3 separate regions of the Homo sapiens genome follow, and regions 2 and 3 are each linked to region 1. The links are contacts of gene promoters, found by promoter capture Hi-C in blood cells and fetal thymus (Javierre and others, 2016). All regions are on one chromosome and are shown on one strand. Each heading gives the region's core, a stretch centred on a gene start or on the middle of the fragment in contact. The rest is flanking DNA. Distances are from core to core; before and after follow the strand shown. Region 1 holds the start of RNASEH1 (ribonuclease H1). Region 2 overlaps EIPR1 (EARP complex and GARP complex interacting protein 1). Region 3 overlaps TRAPPC12 (trafficking protein particle complex subunit 12).

Region 1 (3,114 bases), core at 432-2,931:
TCCCTAATTTGTAAAATGAAAACAATCACACGAGGTTCCCTACATGCCTAGAGGGTAGCTATATAGATCAAATGCCATCTGGCATATGAAAGCCTTTGAATAGGTTAAAATGTCACACTGATATGAGAGGTGACTACCTTCTGAAACTTCCGGGCTTGCAGATTTCCTGACAAAGGCCCAGGCCTCATCCTCTGTGGCAAACTTCTTAAATCTGGCAGCAGGAAACCGGTCCACCTGTGCTCTGCACTCATTCCTGGAAAAGATGTGCAATGTTATTTCCTTCTTCCTTCTCTAACTTATCCCCTTTTTTATTGAGATTCTTAAGGTTGGAAATACAGTTGTCCCTTGGTATCTGAGGGAGACTGATTCCAGGAAGTCCTCCACCCCATCACAGATACCAACATCAGAGGATGCTTAAGTCCTTTGCATAAAATGGTGTATTTGCAAATAACCCACACACATCTTCTTGCATGCTTTAAATCATCTCTAGTTTATAATACCTAATACAATCTATATAGTTGTATTGTCTTTTTATGCGTATTTTAAAACTGTATTCTATTTTAATTTTTTCCAAATATTTTTGATCTATGGTTAGCTGAAACTGAGGATGCAAACTGGATATAGAGGACCAATTTTTGCGTGAAAAGGGCAGAGTCGCACCTTATAGTTTTATCCTGCACGTCAGACTCTACACCTGTGTTCTACTGTATGCCAGCCAGCCAGCACACCAGCACCATAAGGCTTTCGTCAAACTCAAAGCATAACAAAATACTGCGGTCTTTGAAAAAAATATTAACCATTTCTTTACAACAAAAAGGTCAACTTCTGAGATGCTTCTTCCTCAATACTGTAGCTGCCGTGCATGGGGAAACACAGGTAACGAACTTTGGTATCTTGTAGTGGGAAGAGTTCTGGTGGTACAGTCAGAACAGCTGGGCTCAAGTCCTTTCTCTGTCAGTTACATGCCCTGGGAACTTCCTGACCCCAAGAACTATACCTGAAAGTGAGAATAATCCCTCTCACCTCCAAGGGTTGTTACAAGGATCCAACTGCAAATACTGGCTTATTAGAATTTGCCTTTTTTAAAAGGGAAGATTAGGTACTGAGTTCCAATCCCAATTTAGCTGGTACGGAAAGTCTTCTGGTAACGGGGGTTCGTTCTGATTACGTGTCACTTTTTGTTGCACTTTAACTGCAACAAAGATGGAGGATTAAACACAGGGTTTATTAGGCCACCCCTAACCTTTACGCGACGTTTCTGATATTTCAAACAAGTCTTCGGTGCGTTCCAGTCCCAGGCCATGAGCCTCCTGGAACCCCGCCGGCCGAGCAGGAAAACGAGGCGGTCCCCCGACCACCCACAGCCACAGCGCGCGGCACAGACTCGGACCGCCAGGCTCCCGCCGCCGGGGTTAGCCGGGCTCCGGCCTCCCTCGACCCCGATGCCGGCAGGGAGGCGCCTCGGCGGGCGGGCCACTCACCAGGTCAGAAAGACCCCGGTCTTGCGGCCCCTCCTCACGGCATAGAACATCCCGAACCCGCGAGAGCCGCGGCGGCAGGGCAAGGCGGCCAAGGCGACTCTGTGGGCCAGGAACAGAAGCCAGCTCATCGCTCACTCCCGGCACCGGGAAGCATTTCGACTCCCGGCCCAGCGTGGGCGCGAGCCGCCGGCGCTCAACACCGCACTTCCGTCACCGGCGCGGGAAGATGACGCACGTCTGGGCGGAGTCCTGATGAGGGCCGGGGCCTAGGGAGGGGCGGTGTCGTAGGGCGGAGCCCGGAGCTCGGCCCCTGACGAGCCCGAACTCGTCAACTTCCTGTCGGTACTTGAAGAAGCGGAGCCAGGGCTGAGATCCCGAAGGCGGGCGAGGTCTGGGATGGGGCGGGGCCTATGGGAGCGGGGCTGAAGCCCTGGGCCCGGCAGAGGAAGGTCGAGATGGACCATGTTGGGCCCCTTCTCTCCCCGCCCCCAGGCCGCAGTTCGGGGGCCACGCCCCGGCGTGCTCGGGTCACCGCGGGAAGCCCTTGAACCCCCTGGCGCCCGGCACCCACGTGCGGTAACCGCGGCTCCTCGAGAGCTCCAGGGATGCGGATCTACAGTAAGGGCTGTGGCCAGATGAATGAATGCACATTTTTTAGTGGGCAGAAAGATGTTAGAATTCATGAATTAGAATAAGCACAAAGGAGGGCGAGAGGGGAGGCCGTGGAAGCCGCATTCCTCCCCTTGCCTTGGGCGCCCACCCCCGAAGGGGCGCGTCCCCTCCCTGCTCCACTGCACGTGGGTGTTTAACCAGGGGATATCCAGTGCCTCAAGCACCACGACCCGGGAGAAAACTGAGTTGAGAAGGTAACTTTTAGAATTCTCCCCATTTGACCTTTTGCTCTGTAAGCAAATCAAGTAATTTTAAAAGTGTTCATGGGTTGGAGGGGCGTGGTGGCTTACGCCTGTAATCTCAGCACTTTGGGAGGCCAAGGCGGGTGGATCACCAGGTCAGGAGATCGAGACCATCCTGGCCAATATGATGAAACCCTGTCTCTACTAAAAATACAAAAATTAGCCGGGCGTGGTCGCCTGCGCCTGTAATCCCAGCTACTCAGGAGGCTGAAGCAGGAGAGGCGCTCGAACTCGAGAGGTGGAGGTTGCATCTGGGCGACAGAGCGTGATTCCGTCTCAAAAAAAAAAAAAAAGTCTCCATTGGCAAACATTGTTATTCGAATTATTTTTAAACCACTTTTCTTTAATTTTCTTAAGGTCTTCTAACAAGCCTTTTGCACACCTGCCATGTATTTTGTCAGGCCTTGGGGATGAAGGTGAGAAATTCGAGAATCCCCGGAGATAACACATCAGCAAATAGTGCGCAGGCAGAACAAGCTGTTGGAGGTGAGAGACACAGAGCAGAGAAGCACCCGCACCTGGAGAGTCAGGAGGGCCTCACATCAGAACGCCTGAGCAAATACAGTTTTGAAGGATACTAATTTTTTAAAAAGTTCATTCACATGAGTTAGACAAAGAGAAAGAAGCAGGACATTCTAGGAAGAAGGAACGGCCCAGGCAAAAGCGACGCGTACATTGGCGTGGTAAGTTGTGTTCCTCTGTGAAATCGAAGAACATCT
Region 2 (3,114 bases), core at 449-2,948, 210 kb before region 1:
GGATGTGCCACACCCTTTCAAACAATCAGACCTGTGATAACTCACTCACTGTCACGAGAACATCAAGGGGGGAATCCACGCCCATGATCCAATCACCTCCAACCAGGCCCCTCCCTCAAAACTGGGGATTACAATTTAACATGAGATTTGGGTATGGACACAGGGCCAAAATATACCAGATGGTAATACTAATAGTACTATGAATAACTGCTTGTCCATTTCACCATTTCACTAAACACTGAACTCAGGACACGAATATCTGTTCAGGTTTTGTGTACCCAGCACATAAAAAAGAGGAATTAAAGAGTTCTGTTATTCTATGAAGTAAGCATTTGTTGAGTGGATGAATGAATGAACAGCTCAACAATGTCACATGCCTTTACCAGAAACAGAAAGACAAAACCAGCAAGTCAAAAACACAGCTTCATACCTACCATACGGATTCACACACAGACAACTGCAGGCAAGTGTGGAAATACATGAGGTATGTAATAAAACATACTGTTGACTCAAAAAAATAAGATCCTGGCAAACTAATCTGAGTAATTATCAGAACTCTTCAATTTAGAAGAAAGGAGACAGAAAAACTGGAAAGCTTCTTTAAAATAATTAATTGAATGTTACTTCGTTCCAAAAAAAAAAAAAAAAACAAATTAAGGTAGATTAAAACACTTTCTGTCATTTTGGGCGATTTTTTTTTTTTTAGACAGAGTCTCGCTCTGTCACCCAGCCTGGAGTGCAGTGGTGCGATCTCGGCTCACTGCAACCTCCATCTTCCCAGTTGTCAAGTGATTCTCATGCCTCAGCCTTCCAAGTAGCTGGGATTACAGGTGCGTGCCACCACACCCAGCTAATTTTTGTATTTTTAGTAGAGACAGGGTTTCACCATGTTGGCCAGGCTGGTCTTGAACTCTTCATCTCAAGTGATCCACCCGCCTTGGCCTCCTGAAGTGCTGGGATTACATGCGTGAGCGACCACACCTGGCCTCTTCTTATTTCTTCTATTTTGATAACTTTGGTACCAATGGTTCTTCATTAATGTCATTACCAAATGGAAATGCCATTACTACATTCTGGCTAAGAGCAGGTACACAGTAATTTACTCATAACTATCATGCTTTCCATGGCCCCATTTTGTGTTGAATTCCTGGGTTTCTGCTGACTTCTGCTTTCTGAAGCTGCATTTGGAAGGCAGACTGGCGTGCCTCCCATCCTATCTCTGTGCCACTATCTCCCATGTGGGTTTTACTCCCCAACTCCCCTGTAGGCACCATCCCTGAAACCACAGGCCATCTTCATGGTGGGTCCTCCTTCCTTTTCAGGTGGCCACTGGTAACTATTTTTATAAATAAGTAATTCCCTTCTTATATTTTTTCCAGTAGAAAAGTAACACACATACATACATACACATTCGGAAAACAAAACATTAGAAAGAAAAGAATTTTACATCCTGAATAGATGTTGCCCCCACCTCATCCCAATTTGAGGTTTTGCTTTCTCAGGTTTCAGTTACCTGTGGTCAAGTGTAACACAAAAATATTAAATGAAAAATTCCAGAAATAAGCAATTCATAAGTCTAAATCACATACCATTCTGAGTAGTGTGGTGAAGTCTGGAGCCATCCCACTCCATCCCACCCGAAACGTGAGTCATCCCTTTGATCAGCATATCCATGCTACAGAAGCTACCTGCCCCTGAGCCACCCACACTGTCTGTTCCGGACACCTTTGATCAGCATATCCATGCTACAGAAGCGACCTGCCCCTGAGCCACCCACACTGTCTGTTCCGGACACCTTTGATCAGCATATCCATGCTACAGAAGCGACCTGCCCCTGAGCCACCCACACTGTCTGTTCCGGACACCTTTGATCAGCATATCCATGCTACAGAAGCGACCTGCCCCTGAGCCATCCATACTGTCTGTTCCCGACACCTTTGATCAGCATATCCATGCTACAGAAGCGACCTGCCCCTGAGCCACCCACACTGTCTGTTCCGGACACCTTTGATCAGCATATCCATGCTACAGAAGCTACCTGCCCCTGAGCCATCCACACTGTCTGTTCCCGACACCTTTGATCAGCATATCCATGCTACAGAAGCTACCTGCCCCTGAGCCAACCACACTGTCTGTTCCCGACACCTTTGATCAGCATATCCATGCTACAGAAGCTACCTGCCCCTGAGCCACCCACACTGTCTGTTCCTGACATCCAACCATCAACACCTTATGGCTTGATGATCCAGATCACCCAAAACAGATACTCCTGCTGTTGACATATCCTCTGAAGGTCAGTAATAGCCTAACGCTACATCACAATGCCTATGTCATTCCCCTCACTTCATCTCATCACACAGGCCTTATATTATTGCACATCTTCTCAAGAAAAAGGATGAGTGGCTGGGCGCAGTGGCTCACGCCTGTAATCCCAACACTTTGGGAGGCTGAGGCCAGCAGATAACCTGAGGTCAGGAGTTTGAGACCAGCCTGGCCAACGTGGTGAAACCCCGTCTCTACTAAAAATACAAAAATTAGCTGGGCGTGGTGGTGCATGCCTGTAATCCCAGCCACTCAGGAGGCTGAGGCAGGAGAATCACTTCAACCTGGGAGGCGGAGGTTGCAGTGAGCTGAGATCGTGCCATTGCACTCTAGCCTGGGCAACAGAGTGAAACTCTGTCTCAAAAAAACAAAAACCAGAAGAAGGGTGAGTATAGTACAGTAAGGTGTTCTGACAGACAGAGACCATATTCATATAACTTTCATAACTAATAATCATTGTGTTTTTATTAGTTATGTTGTTAAGCTTTTGTTGTGCCTAACTTATACCTTAAACTTTACCTATATGTAAGTATAGGAAAAAGCATGATATGTTTAGGGTTCAGTACTCACCAAGGTTTCCTGGCATCCGCTGGGTGGTCTTGGAACACATCCCCTGTGAAAAGCATCTGAAGATAACCCTTGGCTCAATTTTTAGTCCTTTTTGGCCTATTTCCTTCCAGTCTTTATTCTAAGAAGAGATTCAATTGTGCACTTTGCTTTTTTACACCACGTTGATCATACTGTAAGCACAATTTTAACATCCCACCAAATCATCTAACGATTCTTAAGTTG
Region 3 (3,114 bases), core at 391-2,890, 170 kb before region 1:
TTTTACGGGCAGTCTTTCCAGAATGTTCATTGACTAATTTACTAATATTCATTTACTATACTTATTGTGTGTTTACTCTTGACCAGGCATTGGTCTAGGCATTCTTCTCTACCCTCTTAGGCAGAATATACTGAGCATAATTTAACCTTTGCAGGATCTTTTTAATGAATACCAATTCCGGACTCTGATGTCAGGGGTATTTGGATGTGTGGGATTGGATTTATTTGTCACTGAATTCTTACCTGTACTCCCACTCCCTGGTCTTGTCTCTGTATCCTGTCCCCCCAAGATGGCTTTCATGTTCTGCTCCATGTTTCTTCCCTTCTCTCTCGGGGTCTTTGTCCTCTCTGCTGTAAAATTCCTTTAACATCTGTGGGTCTGGCCTTTAGCACTTTCTTTCAAACCCTCTGTTGCTTGCCTTGCCGTTTGCTTCTCCCTCTGACTGTAACTCAGAGGAAATCTGAAGGTTGCCACAGGAAAGACTTAACCTATTGCTTCCCAACTGGGTGCTGCAGTCCAACGGTCTTAGGTACATTTGGAAAGGGGGAGAGGTGTTTCACTTTGGTTGACAAAAGGGCTGGGGTGAGCATATGACATTTAGTGAGTAGGGCTAAGAGTACTCAGTACCTTGCAGCGAGCTCAAAGCTTTCAAGGAATGGAAAACACCTGTTCCTCAAAAAAGCTTAAAGGTCTCTGGTCCTGTCCAGTTTCTCCTTTTATGATGAGGAAACAGATCCGAATGACTTGTGTGTTCACCAGCAAGCCTGCCATGTCCCAGGCATCCTCTCTCCTGACACAAAGGAAGGTGTAATGCCTACCCGCCAGCCCAGACCAGGACAGACGGCCTAGACAAGGGAAGGCAGACCTGCAAATGGATAATTTCAGTGTCCTGTGGCTCAGTAGAGATCCAGGCAGAGTCCCATGGGCGTGTTTACCCTAGATAATGCAGCCACAACACTGCAGAGCCAGTGCCAGAACACAGGTCCTCTTTGCCTTAGTTCTGGCCTCTTTGTCTTATGTTGTATTTCTCCCTACCATAGAAAATGACTAATTGTATTTCTCTCAGAAGGATCTCTGTTTAAGTCAAAGAACTAGAAACAGCACTAATTATCAGGGAAATGCAAATCAAAATCACAATGAGATATCATGGCTGTTAACCGAAAACTCTGGAGACAGCAAGAGTTGGTGAGGGTGTGGAGAAAGGGACCCTTGTGCACTGTTGGTGGGAATGTAAATTAATACAGCCATTATGGAAAACATGGAGGTGCCCGAAAAAGTTAAAAATGGAGCTACCATATGATCTAACAGTCCCCCATTCTGGGTATGTATCCAAAGGAATTGAAATCGGGATCTCAGAGAGATGCCTGCGCTCCATGCTCACTGCAGAATTATACAGTAGCCCAGATAGGGAATCAACCTAAGTGCCTATCGACAGGTGAGAGGACAGAGAAAATTTGGTATGTAGTGGCTCACGCCCATAATCCCAACTTCTCAGGAGGCTGAGGCAGGAGGCTCACTTGAGCCATGGTGTTCAAAGCTGCAATGAGCTATGATGGCACCACTGCACTCCAGCATGGATAACAGAGTAAGACCTGTCTCTTTTTAAAAAAAAAAATGTTTTTAAAGAAAAGAAAATATACACAATGGAATTCTATTTAGTCCTTAAAAAACAAGGGGAAACCTTGCCATTTGTGACTATATGCATGCACCTGGTGGACATTAGGTTAAGTGAAATAAGCCAGACACAAAATGATGAATACCACGTGATCTCATTTACATGTGGAATCTACAGAAGTCAGACTCATAGAAGCTGGGGCCTGGGGGTGTGAGGGGCATGGGGAGATGTTACTCAAAGGGTACAGAGCTTCATTTATGCAAGAAGAAGGAATGCTGGGGATGGAATGTACATTTAACATGGTGACTATAGTTAGTAATACTGCGTTGTTTACTTGAAATTTGATGAGAGCAGATTTTAAGTGTCCTCACCACCCTCACACATATACACACACACACAGTAACTATGGGTAGTGACGGTTGTGTTAATTATTTCGACTTTGGAATTCAGTACACAATGTCTATTTATAACAAATGATCATATATACCTTGAATATATATAATTTGTATTTGTCAACTAAATATTCTAAAATTTAAAAATATGCCTTTTCTATTTACCCACATTTAAAAAAAAAAAAAAAGAACTGGAAATCAAATGGCTTAACTTTAGTGTTCCATAAAGAGTGAGTAGCTCAGTCTTCTCCAGGGTCCCAGAAGTTGCCTGATACGTAGACATATCCCTGATCAGTATGTGAGCTTAGGAAGAGCCTTGAATTAGAAGAATTGGTTTCAAATTGTTGGTTTGCCAATAACCTGTGTAACCTAAGGGAATTCATTGAACATCTGTGGCTCTATTTTCTTCTCTGTAAAATGAAAGGTTTTGGTAAGTCTGTCAGTTACGCTGTAGGTTCAGCTGCATTAACAAAGAAAGCCAAAGGTATGGTGGCTGGAATAGGATACATGTTTATTTCCAGGTGGTAGAACACTTTGGAGATATGTGGGCCAGCACTGTGGATTGACTCTACCTTCCTCAACCAAGTCCAGGAAGCTTTTTCCCATTGCTGTCTTCCAGCCATCTGGAAGAGGGAGAGGCTGGAGAGCTCTGCAGTATTCCTTTTATGATACGTCATCTGGAAGACAGTGTGTCCACTCACATCCCACTACCTAGGGTTTAGTCACTTGGCCACACCAAGATGCAAGGAAGGCTGAAAATAGTCTTTAGGTAGGCGACCATGTGCTCAGGCAAAACCAAAGTTCTGTTACTAGAAGAAGGGGAGGGCCGGGCATGGTGGCTCACACCTGTAATCCCAGCACTTTGGGAGTCCGAGGTGGGTGGATCATGAGGTCAGGAGATCGAGACCACCCTGGCTAACACGGTGAAACCCCATCTCTACTAAAAATACAAAAAACAGCCGGACGTGGTGGTGCACGCCTGTAGTCCCAGCTACTTGCGAGGCTGAGGCAGGAGAATCACGTGAACCCAGGAAGCAGAGGTTGCAGTGAGCTGAGATTGCACCATTGCATTCCAGCCTGCGCAACAGAGCAGCACTTTGTCTGAGG

The links. Contacts are between HindIII fragments. The CHiCAGO score rates a contact against its expected background, and 5 or more counts as called.
Region 2: a fragment that was not itself captured here is called in contact with the fragment with the promoter of RNASEH1 in region 1 in 1 of 17 cell types (neutrophils); the score reaches 5.0 in neutrophils.
Region 3: a contact is called between a fragment that was not itself captured here and the fragment with the promoter of RNASEH1 in region 1, in 3 of 17 cell types (neutrophils, naive CD8 T cells and total CD8 T cells). The highest score is 9.2, in neutrophils.

The regions. Positions count from the first base shown.
Region 1 is chr2:3,556,652-3,559,765 of GRCh38, forward strand. RNASEH1 (ribonuclease H1) reads right to left here and starts at 1,682. Exons shown (of 8, transcript NM_002936.6): 1 at 1,482-1,682; 2 at 138-253. The coding sequence starts at 1,609. It overlaps RNASEH1-DT (RNASEH1 divergent transcript), which reads left to right and starts at 1,735. Exons shown (of 3, transcript NR_038429.1): 1 at 1,735-2,347; 2 at 2,797-3,078. RefSeq lists silencers at 1,344-1,443, 1,814-2,133 and an enhancer at 1,534-1,783. The HindIII fragment of the contact is 22,605 bases long and covers 1-3,114 here.
Region 2 is chr2:3,350,314-3,353,427 of GRCh38, forward strand. The region is part of intron 2 of EIPR1 (EARP complex and GARP complex interacting protein 1); the gene reads right to left. Among named protein-coding and RNA genes, the nearest start is that of EIPR1, 26 kb to the right of the region's middle. The HindIII fragment of the contact is 2,211 bases long and covers 594-2,804 here.
Region 3 is chr2:3,391,510-3,394,623 of GRCh38, forward strand. The region is part of intron 2 of TRAPPC12 (trafficking protein particle complex subunit 12); the gene reads left to right. Among named protein-coding and RNA genes, the nearest start is that of TRAPPC12, 13 kb to the left of the region's middle. The HindIII fragment of the contact is 1,920 bases long and covers 681-2,600 here.